Regions from separate parts of the Homo sapiens genome. Here all the other regions are linked to region 3. Evidence: promoter capture Hi-C in 16 types of primary human blood cells and fetal thymus (Javierre and others, 2016). All regions are on one chromosome and are shown on one strand. Each heading gives the region's core, a stretch centred on a gene start or on the middle of the fragment in contact. The rest is flanking DNA. Distances are from core to core; before and after follow the strand shown. Region 1 overlaps LMLN (leishmanolysin like peptidase). Region 2 has its middle 21 kb from the start of LMLN-AS1. Region 3 holds the start of RPL35A (ribosomal protein L35a).

What was found. The method cuts DNA at HindIII sites, captures the fragments that hold promoters and counts their contacts. A CHiCAGO score of 5 or more calls a contact.
Region 1: a contact is called between a fragment that was not itself captured here and the fragment with the promoter of RPL35A in region 3, in 1 of 17 cell types (megakaryocytes). The highest score is 6.0, in megakaryocytes.
Region 2: a fragment that was not itself captured here is called in contact with the fragment with the promoter of RPL35A in region 3 in 1 of 17 cell types (naive B cells); the score reaches 7.0 in naive B cells.

Annotation. Positions count from the first base shown.
Region 1 is chr3:198,029,982-198,033,788 of GRCh38, reverse strand. All of the region lies in intron 15 of LMLN (leishmanolysin like peptidase), which reads right to left. Among named protein-coding and RNA genes, the nearest start is that of LMLN-AS1, 7.6 kb to the left of the region's middle. The HindIII fragment of the contact is 2,427 bases long and covers 1,200-3,626 here.
Region 2 is chr3:198,059,075-198,062,814 of GRCh38, reverse strand. It overlaps the pseudogene ANKRD18DP. Among named protein-coding and RNA genes, the nearest start is that of LMLN-AS1, 21 kb to the right of the region's middle. The HindIII fragment of the contact is 1,296 bases long and covers 1,323-2,618 here.
Region 3 is chr3:197,947,435-197,951,464 of GRCh38, reverse strand. RPL35A (ribosomal protein L35a) reads right to left here and starts at 1,275. Exons shown (of 5, transcript NM_000996.4): 1 at 1,244-1,275; 2 at 487-529; 3 at 154-306. The coding sequence starts at 497. All of the region lies in intron 2 of DRC9 (dynein regulatory complex subunit 9), which reads left to right. RefSeq lists enhancers at 1-7, 791-1,573, 1,653-1,872. The HindIII fragment of the contact is 8,868 bases long and covers 344-4,030 here.

The DNA.
Region 1 (3,807 bases), core at 1,164-3,663, 81 kb before region 3:
AAGGACACTAAAAAAGTACACAATACAGTGCCTGCCCTCTAGCAGTTTCAATTGAGGAAAGAGGAGTAGGATATAAAAATTTTTTTCAGCCGGGCACAGCGGCTCATGCCTGTAATCCCAGCACTGTGGGACACCAAGGCAGGTGGATCACCTGAGGTCAGGAGTTCGAGACCAGCCTGGCCAACCTGGTGAAACCCCGTCTCTACTAAAAATACAAAAATTAGCCAGGCGTAATGGTGGGCTACTCGAGTGGCTGAGGCATAAGAATCACTTGAACCCAGGAGGCCGAGGTTGCAGTGAGCTGAGATCCCATCACTGCACTCCAGCCTGGGTGACAGAGTGAGACTCCATCTCAAAAAAAAAAGATAATAAAAATAATAATTTTTTTTATAAAATACTAACTGTATTTTGAAATTAGAAGAAAAAGCAAAAAATGAACAGTACCAGACTATTTTATGATTAAGAGTCAATAAATGGTAGAAACAAGAACAAATATTAGAAACTTTCATGGAAGACAGCATTTGCATCCTAAGGATGTACACAGGATTTGGACTACTGCCGGGCAGATGTTACAGGTTGGGAAGCAGAATGCACATGGCTTAGAGATGAGAATTATATGAGAGTGTTGATAGGACAAGAGGAAAACTCCCTTGCTGAAGTTGAAGTATTCTCATTGTGGAATTCTGGGAATTAAGTGTGGGCAGGAGGGTAGATGTACAGGTAGCAGCAGACATAACAGACTCAGGAAAGCTGGATCAAAATCCAGCAACAGGAAGAGCCAGGAAGAAACTGATCTGCAGAACACAAGAGGGCTCAGGACTGCCACAGCCACACCTGGTACCAAGAAGTAAGAGCTACAATCAAAAGGATTAGACAAACGTCTGTTTCAGAGACAGACGCCAGCATTCCTCTCCCTCACTGCGACCAGCTGGACCAGTTCGTTCCGAACCCAGCTGATATAGTTTGGGTATTTGTCCAAATCTTCTGTTGAAATATGATTCCCAGTGTTGGATGTGGGGCCTAGTGAGAGGTGTCTGGGTCATGGGGATGGATCCCTCATGAATAGCTTGGTGCCCTCCCCACAGGAATAAGTTCCCCAGAGATCTGCTTGTTCAAGAGGTCGGGAGCTCCCTCCTCTCTCGTTCCCGCTCTATGTGATAAGCCTGCCCCCACTCTGCCTTCCGCCATGACTGTAAGCTTCCTGAGCCGTCACCAGAAGCCGATGACAGCACTTATGCTTCCTGTAGTCTGCAGAACTGTAAGCCAAAATTAACCTCTTTTCTTTATAAATTACCCAGCCTCAGATACTCCTTTACAGCAACGCAAAATGGACTAATACACCAGCATACTGGAGATTTATTTTTTGGAAAGGGTAAAACAGAGTTTTTCTGTTCTGGGGAAAACTAAGTACAGCAGAGAGCTGGGATGCCATCATGAAAATAAGGACTCGAAGTTTACAGGTTAAAGCATTCAAAATCGACTTCCTTCCTAGAACTCTGACAGCATATAAACTTAGGCGGGTCACTGGCAGTTTCTCTGACCAATCTGACCCGTCAAAAGGACGGACATCAAAGGTTTTGTAAGAAAGGAGCCCCATAGGGAGACCACAGTCAACAAGCCCTATGTGTGTGCTCAGAGCTTCCAAACTGGCTTCCAGGCACTTTTCTTTTCTTTTTTTTTTTTTTTTGAGTCAGAGTCTCACTCTGTCGCCCAGGCTGTGGTACAATAGTGTCATCTCAGCTCACTGCAACCTCCACCTCCTGGGTTCAAGTGATTCTCATGCCTCAGCCTCCTGTGTAGCTGGAATTACAGGCGCCCACCACCACACCGGGCTAATTTTTGTATTTTTAGTAGATGAGGGGTTTCATCATGTTGGCCAGGCTGCTTTCAAACTCTTGACCTCAAGTGATCCGCCTGTCTCGGGCTCCCAAAGTGCTGTGATTACAGGTGTGAGCCACTGTGCCAGGCTCCAGTCACTTCTTGAATATGAACAGGCTGTTAATGATCACCAAAAATAGAATCAACCCATTAAATTTTGGAATACTGGGGCTTGTGGCAGATGAGGATGTGGTATGCGAAGTTAAAATTAAGAATTTACAGCTTCCAGAGAAGAAAGAAAAAAGATTCTGGCAATTGAAACTCAGAATGACACTGACAGTCAGCACACAAAGGAAAAATGCTTTCAGAATTCTGATGGAAAATAATTTTCTTTCTTTTTTTCCTGCACCCAATCATCCATTAGGAAAATAATTTTCAAAAATAAAGCTATACCCACCCAAGCTATTGAAGGACGGCAGAACACGCCACCCCAAAATGTGCTGTTTTGGCACAAAGGTTTCCAGCTAAAGGGACTTCAACACAGCAGACCCAGCAAGACTGTTCTGACATCCCCCTTCCTCCTGAAAGCAGAAGACACAACTCCCACATGAATAATACCCTTCCTTTTCCAGGAGAAAACAAACATTTTTATCACCAATATGGGGAGTCAAAGCCAAAGAATTTGGTACAAACAGACCTTCTTAAAATAATTCTTATCTTCCTTTAGCCTCCGCATACATTTTACTTTTCTGTAACTGTCTCCCTTTGTTCAATGTAGTATAAAAGTATATAGGTTTCACACTTCTTTGAGTTTTCATTTACTCATGTGGGCTCCTGTGTCATGTAAAACTTAGATTAAATAAATGTGTATGTTTTCCTCCTGTTCATCGGGCTTATGCCTATTTCATTCTCAGGCCTAGCTGAGGACCCTGAGGGCAGAGGTGAGGTCCCGCCTTCCCACGCTGTCAGCAGGCGTCACGGTGGAAACTAGCTGAGGACCCTGAGGGCAGAGGTGAGGTCCCGCCTTCCCACGCTGTCAGCAGGCGTCACATCACGGTGGAAACTAGCTGAAGACCCTGAGGGCAGAGATGAAGTCCCGCCTTCCCACGCTGTCAGCAGGCGTCACAGTGGAACAGTGATGCTTTCAGACATGCAAGTCTCAACATTGTTCTCCGTCACATACTCCTCAAATCTCCACTAGAAGATATGTTCCATTAAAATAAAAAAAATCCAAAAAAGAATATGACACAAAATCCATGAAGGAGGGGATCCAATATGAGAGAGACAGAGGGACCAGAGGGACCTCCAGGATGATCCTGACTCGAGATCCCAAGATGCCAGCTGTGCTGCCAACATAAGGATTATATAGTCGAGATTAGCACAGGCCAGAAATGTCCAGAAGAGATTTCCTCAAGATGAAATGGATAGAATACCTCAGGTATCTGGTTCTACTGAAAGGAGATGAGCCCAACTGGGAGAAGAGCTTAGAATTGAATTAGTGCTAAATACAAAGAAAACTAATTGCAAAAAAACAAGGTCTTAAATCCAGAGAAAACGAAATACTGGGGAGAACGGGGAAGTAATGATTGCATGCTACCAGGCGCCACGTCTGCATAGTCCTGGTAATGTAAACAGTGAATACGTATTTATCCATAATCACCACTGGGAGGATGGGAAACAAGAAGTGTACGATGGGGAAAGAGGAAGTGAACACAGCAAGAGGACGAGGCGAACCAACTAAATTCTTATTTTCCAAAGTCAACAGCTAACATTTGAAATTCAAACCTTATGAAAGAATAATATAAGCTTTTTAAAAATAAAAAAGCAGGCCAGGTGCAGTGGCTCACGCCTGTAATCCCAGCACTTTGGGAGGCCCAGGCAGGCAGATCACTTGAGGTCAGGATTTTGAGACCAGCCTGGCCAACATGGTGAAACCCTGTCTCTACTAAAAATAAAAAAAAACAGCTAGGCATGGTGGCGGGCGCCTAT
Region 2 (3,740 bases), core at 721-3,220, 110 kb before region 3:
TCTGTGAGCCCATTTCTGGCAGATTTAATTCATAATGAATTAAGTTTAGTCCAAACTAACAGTGAGAGTTAAGCTTGCTGGTTCATGTTTTTCTCCTATGTTAAGCCAAGGCAAACTATTTTTTACTTCTTAGTTATAATCCAGTAACTTAGGGATAGCAAAACATAGATTAAGTTTTACAGTTACATTTTAATTATTTTCTATTTTTTTATTCATACTTAATTCAGAATAAAGTTAATTTTAAAACATGCACCCTAACAGAAAAGACATCTGAGAAACAAAACAAGCAAATTAATTTTCCACTTTTGCACCTGCAAAAAAATGTCTCAAGAACCAGAACTGAGTAAGAATTGTGATAAAGAGTGTTTATCTGTATATTCAGGGCTTCCTTTAAAATTAATTACAAGAAAGTTCAACTGAAAATTGGTGAAAGTTTTGAAAAATCCAAAATTACTGTTTGTCCTGAGGAAGAGCTCTTACATAGTTACTCTAAAGAGGGACAAAATTAAAGGAAGTGCCCTCTAACCCAATGAATCATGTCCCTGACTGCAAGGAAGCAGATGCATCTTGGAGTGTCGAACTCTGTAGTATCCCAGGCATTGCCTGAACAGGAGGAGAACATCACAAACCTGTCTTTTCATTGTATTTATACTCTGGGTCCCTCAAACACACCTGCCAGTCATCTTCTAAGCTTTATTCAAATGAAAATAAATCAGACTGTAAAACTTGTAACTATCCAGACATGTAGCCTGTTTCTCAGAGATGAAGAGAATTGTTGTAATGATACAGAAATAGAAAAATTAGGGAACCCAGTAGTTATGGTTGAAATGAAAGAGGACCAAGAGTTTGATATGCAAATGACAAAAAAATATAAACCAAAATACCGTTAATTGGAAATTAGACATTAGACATTGGCCTCAGTCTAGAGATCCAAAAAGTCTGTTTGATTTGTGGTTTGTTTACTCTAAAGAAATGAAGCATGTGATACAGATAGAAAGCCACAGTATTTCTGCTGTTACAGACACTTACAAAAACAAAAATCCAGTAAGCACTTGTTCCACAAGCCATATGGAACTTAGAAGCTCTTCTAAAGCTTAGAAGATGACTGGCAAGTATGTTTCAGGGAGCCACATAAGACAGTTCCACTGCTAATAGCTATAAAAGCATGAAACCTGCATGAGAAAATGTGAGTTATTCTCCACCCCATAGTGACAGAACATCAAAAGCATATCTAGAAGAAGACTTACAGCAAGATATGCAAAGGCTTAAGAATGAGGTGGGCATGTTACAAGTAGAGTTCCTGGCTTTGAAGAAAGAAAGCTTAACTATAAAAAGAAAGAGGTTCACTTGCTGCTTCTCTTTTTATAAATTATCTGATTCATTCTGGTTTTCTACTCAAGAAAATCTCATGTGTCTAGTTACAGTGTGGTTATCTAAATGCATAATTATGTGTCTAAGTAGATCAGTGCTGCTATCTAAATGACAGTTCTGGAAAACACTCTCATAATCTTTGTTCATTAGTCAACCTGAGTCTCACTATCAGTCTTCCAAGTGGCACATGGGCTGGGAAAATAATTTAGCCATATGCCATGTGACCTTCTGAATCAGCTAAACATAAAGAAAATTGCTAAAGAAATAAGCTCTAGATTCTTCTTACTGTATTCATTTAAAGATGACTTACATTTATTTAAATGATAAAATGGTAACACGATGGGAGGGAAACAATGACTGAGAAGAGACATGAAAATGTATCTAGCCTGGAGACTTGTAACAAATATTATCAGCCAAAGGCGTCTGTTTAATGTGCTTTCATGCATGCAAGTTTATTTGTCTGACTCAAGCTGTTTAAACTTATAATTCCATAATGGCCATTTTAAATATTTTTGGAAACAAATACATATACTTTTGCATATTTAAAAAAAATCACCACTCTCCAATGTTTCTGTTGAATCACACTTTTACATTATGTTGTTTAATAAAATATGGTAAGTTTTGACATGTATGATTTTATCATGTAAGTAGCATAACTTCTCAGCCAAATATTTATCATTTGACTCTATAGTGGAAAGCTGAGTTCTGTACATTGTGTTCTAAAGATAGACAAAAATCTAGAGATTTTCTTAAAAGCAGATGAGGCCTCCTGCCATCCTCTGAGGCATTAAATTGCTTTGCCAAAGTCACGCTTTTAATTTATTTGACTAATTTGATATATTTATCTGGTAATTTATGTAATGCAGCAATATGTAATTGTATCTTCCCTTTTGGTGCCATGAAGTGCTAGGTAATGCCACCTTAGGAGCTTTGGGTGAATTATTTAATATTTATTGGTTTTACTTCTATTATCAAGTAGATAATGGGGCTAGAGTAGACAACTATTCTGTATATCTTCCAGCTATAAACTTTTGTGGTGATTGAATGTAAACTTGGGGAACATCTCATTTTCTAGGATTCTGCACTAGCAACTCAGCAGTGTCACTCTGCTCCTTGAGTTGTGGTAAACTTTGGTTCCTCTATTTCAGTGAGCACCTTCACTTTTTTGATATCCCAGGATCCAAGTGAAAAAATAAGGATAAAAGACAGTGGGGAAAATAACAGCTTAGTGCAGAACAGGGAAAGCTTCTTTTCTGTTTCTGAAGCCCCACAAGGTCACCTCCTCTCAATCTGGCTATTTCATGGAGAATCCAGGTGACAAAGACAGAAGACACATTTTATGTCTGTGTCTTTTTGTTTCTCTGTTTTTGTGTTGATATATTTACACCACAGAAGTAACTGTGATCTGGTGGAGAACTAGAAGTAGAGTCAGAAGCCCTGGGAACATCCTGCAGCTTGCTTATATTTTTAACCTCTCTTTTTAAGAATTGTGATAAGAAATTCATCAATGTATGTACGTAGAAGTGCTTAGTACAATGTCTAGATTTATGATTTAGTAAATGAAATTCTTATAACTGACTAAAAATGTTGAGTCAAATCACAATAGAATATTATCAGGGAAACAGAACTTCTAAAACTTTGAGAAATTTTATCGGTCCAAATACACGTGGAGGTAAAGCTCTTACTACAGGGTGGTATCTGGGTTAGATATCAGAGTATAAATGCAATTTCCTTTTTCCAATATTTTAATTTAGTCAAATTTGTTAATATTTTACTTTATGCTTTGAGTTTGTTGTAATTCAGAGAAAGGCTTTTCCAATTCTGATATTCTTAACAGTTCTCTAGTGTGTATGTGTGTGTTTTTAGTTTTATGGATTCATTGACTTCAAATAAAGTTTTGAACTTTTTGAAATTTATGCTCTTTAAGGTTCAAGGTTTTGCTTCAACTTTTTCTCCAGTTGGATATCCACTTACAGCAACTTTTAATTGCATGAATGTACAGGTTGTTCTTTCACTTCAGAGATAAACATGATATGTTATTTTATTGAGTGCTAGCTGAAAATTTCTTTTGTTTTATTTAAGATTTTCAAAGTTATAGAAAAAAGAAGGATGTGATATATACAAATTGCATATTGAAGGGAGATATTGCCACACTCAAACAGGAATAATACACAATAAAAAATGACAGTGTCAAAAAGGAAAAGGAATATATTCAGGAAATTAAGAGTATTAGAGAAATAAATGCTAACTTTGAAAAAAGTGCAAGACTCAATGAGGAAATGACAACAAAAACGATGTCCCAGTATTGTCAACAGCTTAATGGCCTCAAAGCTGAGAATACAAGGCTGAATTCAAAATTGGAGAAGGAA
Region 3 (4,030 bases), core at 26-2,525:
AGGACACTTGCTTGAACCCGGGAGGCGGAGGTTTCGGTGAGGGAGACCAAGTCACTGCATTCCAGCCTCGGCAACAGAGCAAGACTCCGTTATATAAAAAAGAAAATGAGGCAGATCTCAAAAACCCAAAACCTACCAGTGTCATAAACTTACTTCTTTGCTTTATATACATAAGCGCATCTCTTGCCCAAATAGAATTCTGTTTCATCTCGGGCGTAAACACCTTCAATTTTAAGAAGAGCTGTGTGCTCCCTTTGGTTCCGGAGACCCCGCTTATAGCCAGCAAAAATGGCCTTGGACCACAGCCTAAGACACAAAAGATACACAACATGAAACATAAGCTTCAAAAAACCAATCTGACTTGTAATCACCCCCACCCAAAAGTTACTCAGAGCAAACATCTAAGTTTTTTCTTGCCAATTTTAAGCTCGCATTTACGTTCACGTCTAACACACAAAAATAAAGAACTATATTTAAAACGCGTACCTTCCAGACATAGTTCCTTTTAGAAGTCCCGTTCCCAGCAGGCCTTAAAACAAACAAAAAGATTAGTTTAAAACCAAGCCACACAAGTTTCCCACCTCGTCCCCTCTCGTTTAAGCCCCTAAAGCAAATTCCTTTTGGATGGGAGTTTCATGTAGGAGTTCGGGGACAACAATGCCAGAACATCCATATGAAACGCAGGGTCCGGCAAGACATTCAAACCTCAGAGAACAGCTGGTATCTAAGCAAACTTCAGAATGAAGACAAAACTAAGGGACAGGAGTCACAAAAATGACTCTCAGAAAAGCCTGAGAAAATGCATGCCGTTATCAGTAGGCAACACTCAGGAAAAGAAATGAAGCCTTAAAGAGAAACACACACGTAAGACTTTTATGCAATGGCTGGGGGAGAAAAGCTGAGGAAAGAGACTGGTCAGACAAGCCAAGGAAGGTATGGACTGGGAGGAAACGGATGAAGGAAGCACTGCCTCATGGACAACTGCACACGAACAAAAACATCGTTTCACTCCGTTCAGGCCCAGGAATTTAACTGGGATAACCCGGGCAGCCGTTCTCCGGGTGTCAGGGGACCAAACACCATCAGCCCAACATCTCCTCCATCCTGTTCTCCCTCTTCTTGAAACCCGTAGAAATCAATGGCTGGCAGAGACTCCGATACGCACCGGCGACTCGCCAAGGCACAGGAACAAACCTACTCCGGTTATTTGCCCCCAAATTTCAGCAGCAGACCCTTCACTCACCTCCACAGGAGCCAAGATGGCGGTAAGAGAAGGACGAGGCCCCGCCGCGTGGCCTTGTGGGATTAAACATCTTTCGACTCCGCCCTCAATTTAGGCATCTTCTCCAAACGCCAGAAAAACAATCCTCGGAAATCGGCTTCGCACTGAAATAAGCCACATTCAATAGCACTCTTACAATTATTTTCCTAAGTCCTTTCATCTTGGTAGGCTGCAAAATGTACTACTTGGGAACAAGGGAAGGCAAAATGGTAGCCAGCTAAATCCGCCAAAGCTGTGCGTTGCCATAGAAACAACTTAGTTTACTTCCTGCGTCCCCGGACGCCGTAGGTGGAAAGGCGAACCCTGAGTGGAGGATGTTCCCGCTGCCTAAAGAATGATTGACTGTAAGATTGATTTGCCAACAGTGGGGTGCTTTTCTCTCGATACACACAGCAATAGACAGAACGGAAATTCTGGGATCCTAATCTAGCATGGAAGAGAAAGGCCGGGAGCACGAAGGCAGCAGGACCTCTTCCTTCTCTTTTTTCTTTTTCTATACTTCTTTTCTCCCCTCTACTTATTTATCTCTTTCAAGAAATGAGACTGGGCACAGTGGCTCACGCCTGTAAACCCAGCTCTTTGGGAAGCCGAGGCGGGAGGATCGCTTGAGGCCAGGAGTTCGAGACCAGCCTGGGCAACATAGTGAGACCACCTCCCCCAACCTCTACAAAAGAAAAAAAAAATGAATGAAATGACTTAAGTTCTTACCTCCATTCTTCTTTTTGGATCCGAGGTATGAGGAGGACTGCCTGCAGGAGGCTTTATCGCCCTTTTAGGAGAACTCGTTTAGCTGCCTCGTGTCCGCACCTAGTAGGTCCTCCGTAGATACTTGTAGAGGTGGATTAGTGGACGCCAGAGATTCACATTTCCGAATTATTGCATATTTATTTGGGTTATCCTATGGATTCATTCATTTATTTAACACATAGTTTAATGAATGACTACCCTGTACCAAGGTTTGTGTAAGATGACACGGCAGTAAACAAATCTATGCCCTCGTGGAGCTTATATCCTACGAGGCGGAGCAACACAATGAGCAAGTAAAAATAGATGACACGTTAGAAGATGATAATTTCTGTGAAGAAAATTAAGCAGAGAGGCCACTGTAAAAGAGGCTTTCCCCACTTTGAGATGGGAAGTATGTAAAAGAGGCTTCCCCTGCTTTGAGATGGGAACTATTTAAGGGTCCTGAACAGAAGGGTGACTCTATCTGACTTCTATATTGACAAAGTCACTGTGTTGAAAGTGAAGGGAGGCAAGGGTATCAGCAGGAAGATAATTATAGGTTCCTGTAGTGACTATGATGAGAGGTGATGGTGTGTAAACAGAGGATATTGAGTACTGGAATTCTGAATATATTTAAATTCTGGCAAGATTTGCTGGTGGATGAGGAATGAGAGAGAGTAAAGTATGACTCCGAAGTTGTATGAAATAGATGTATATAAGTCACTTTTAAAATCAGATCCTCTCTTAAATACAACAGGATAGAACTTGTACCTTGTAGCCTACTACCCCACCCAGTGTTCCCTGTCCCAGAAAGAAATGTGCTAGAAATTTCACTATTAGATATTGATTTGTCAAAGTTCTATATGGAAGTCCTCCTGGGAGGAATAACACATTAAGTGTGAGTTTCATTCGTTTGCTCGTGTATTATTCGTTCCACAAATACTTATTGAGCACTGAGACTTAGCACCTGATACAACTGTGAGCATCGTTGTCATGTTGCTGCTTTCATGGAACAGTTGTCTAGTGGGGGGAAACTGACACTAACGTAACAAATTGTGAACACAGCTCTGCGGGAAAGTAGTGGCATGAGTGCCCAGAAGCCTGATCTGGCCTGACGAGTCAGCGAAAGGATCACTTGGACAAGTGTCAGTTAAGGCATTTTTCAAACTGCAGGTGATGACCATTAGTAGAGCATGATAAGAATACTTTTTAAAACAAAGTATGGGCCGGGCGCAGTGGCTCACGCCTGTCATCCCAGCACTTTGGGAGGCTGAGGTGGGTGGATCACTTGAGGTCAGGAGTTTGAGACCAGCCTGGCCAACATAGTGAAACCCTGTCTCTACTAAAAATACAAAAATCAGCCAGGGGTGTTGGTGTGTGCCTGTCATCCCAGCTACTTGGGAGGCTGAGGTACAAGAATCGCTTCAACCTGGTAGGGGGAGGTTTCAGTGAGCTGAGATCCTGCCACTGCACTCCAGCCTTGGTGACAGAGTGAGACCGTCTCAAAAAAAAAAAAAAAAAAAAAAAAGGTAAAGCAGGAGTGAAACTACAAGGGATGATGGAGTCTCCCGGGACCTAGGAAAGAAATAGTTACCTAAGCCCAGAGAGAGACGTTTGGAGAGAATTGCCTGACAGGAGCCATGACCTTTGATAGAGGAACATAACCAACCAATTATATTCTGGCAGAGAAGGAGCAGGGAGAATAAATGTCTGATCTCACTTCTCTACACTGAATCTCTTTCTGGAATCTCCCCTGGATATACTCCATACGGGTCCATCTCTCAGAGCACAGAAAATGTTAGAGATTTCACCTAGAAAAATGACACTGTCTTAAGCTGGTGATGGGTCAGTGGGACTTTACACGGTGAAAAGGTGAGGGAAGAGTGGCTCCACTGGAAGGAATAGCAGGTGCAAAGACCCTGAGTTGCAAGGGAGCATGAGTCCAGAGAAGAACTGAAAGAAGCCCACTGTGGCTGGAGCCCAGAGAGCAAGGAAAGTGCAGTTGTAGTTGGGTCTAGAGAG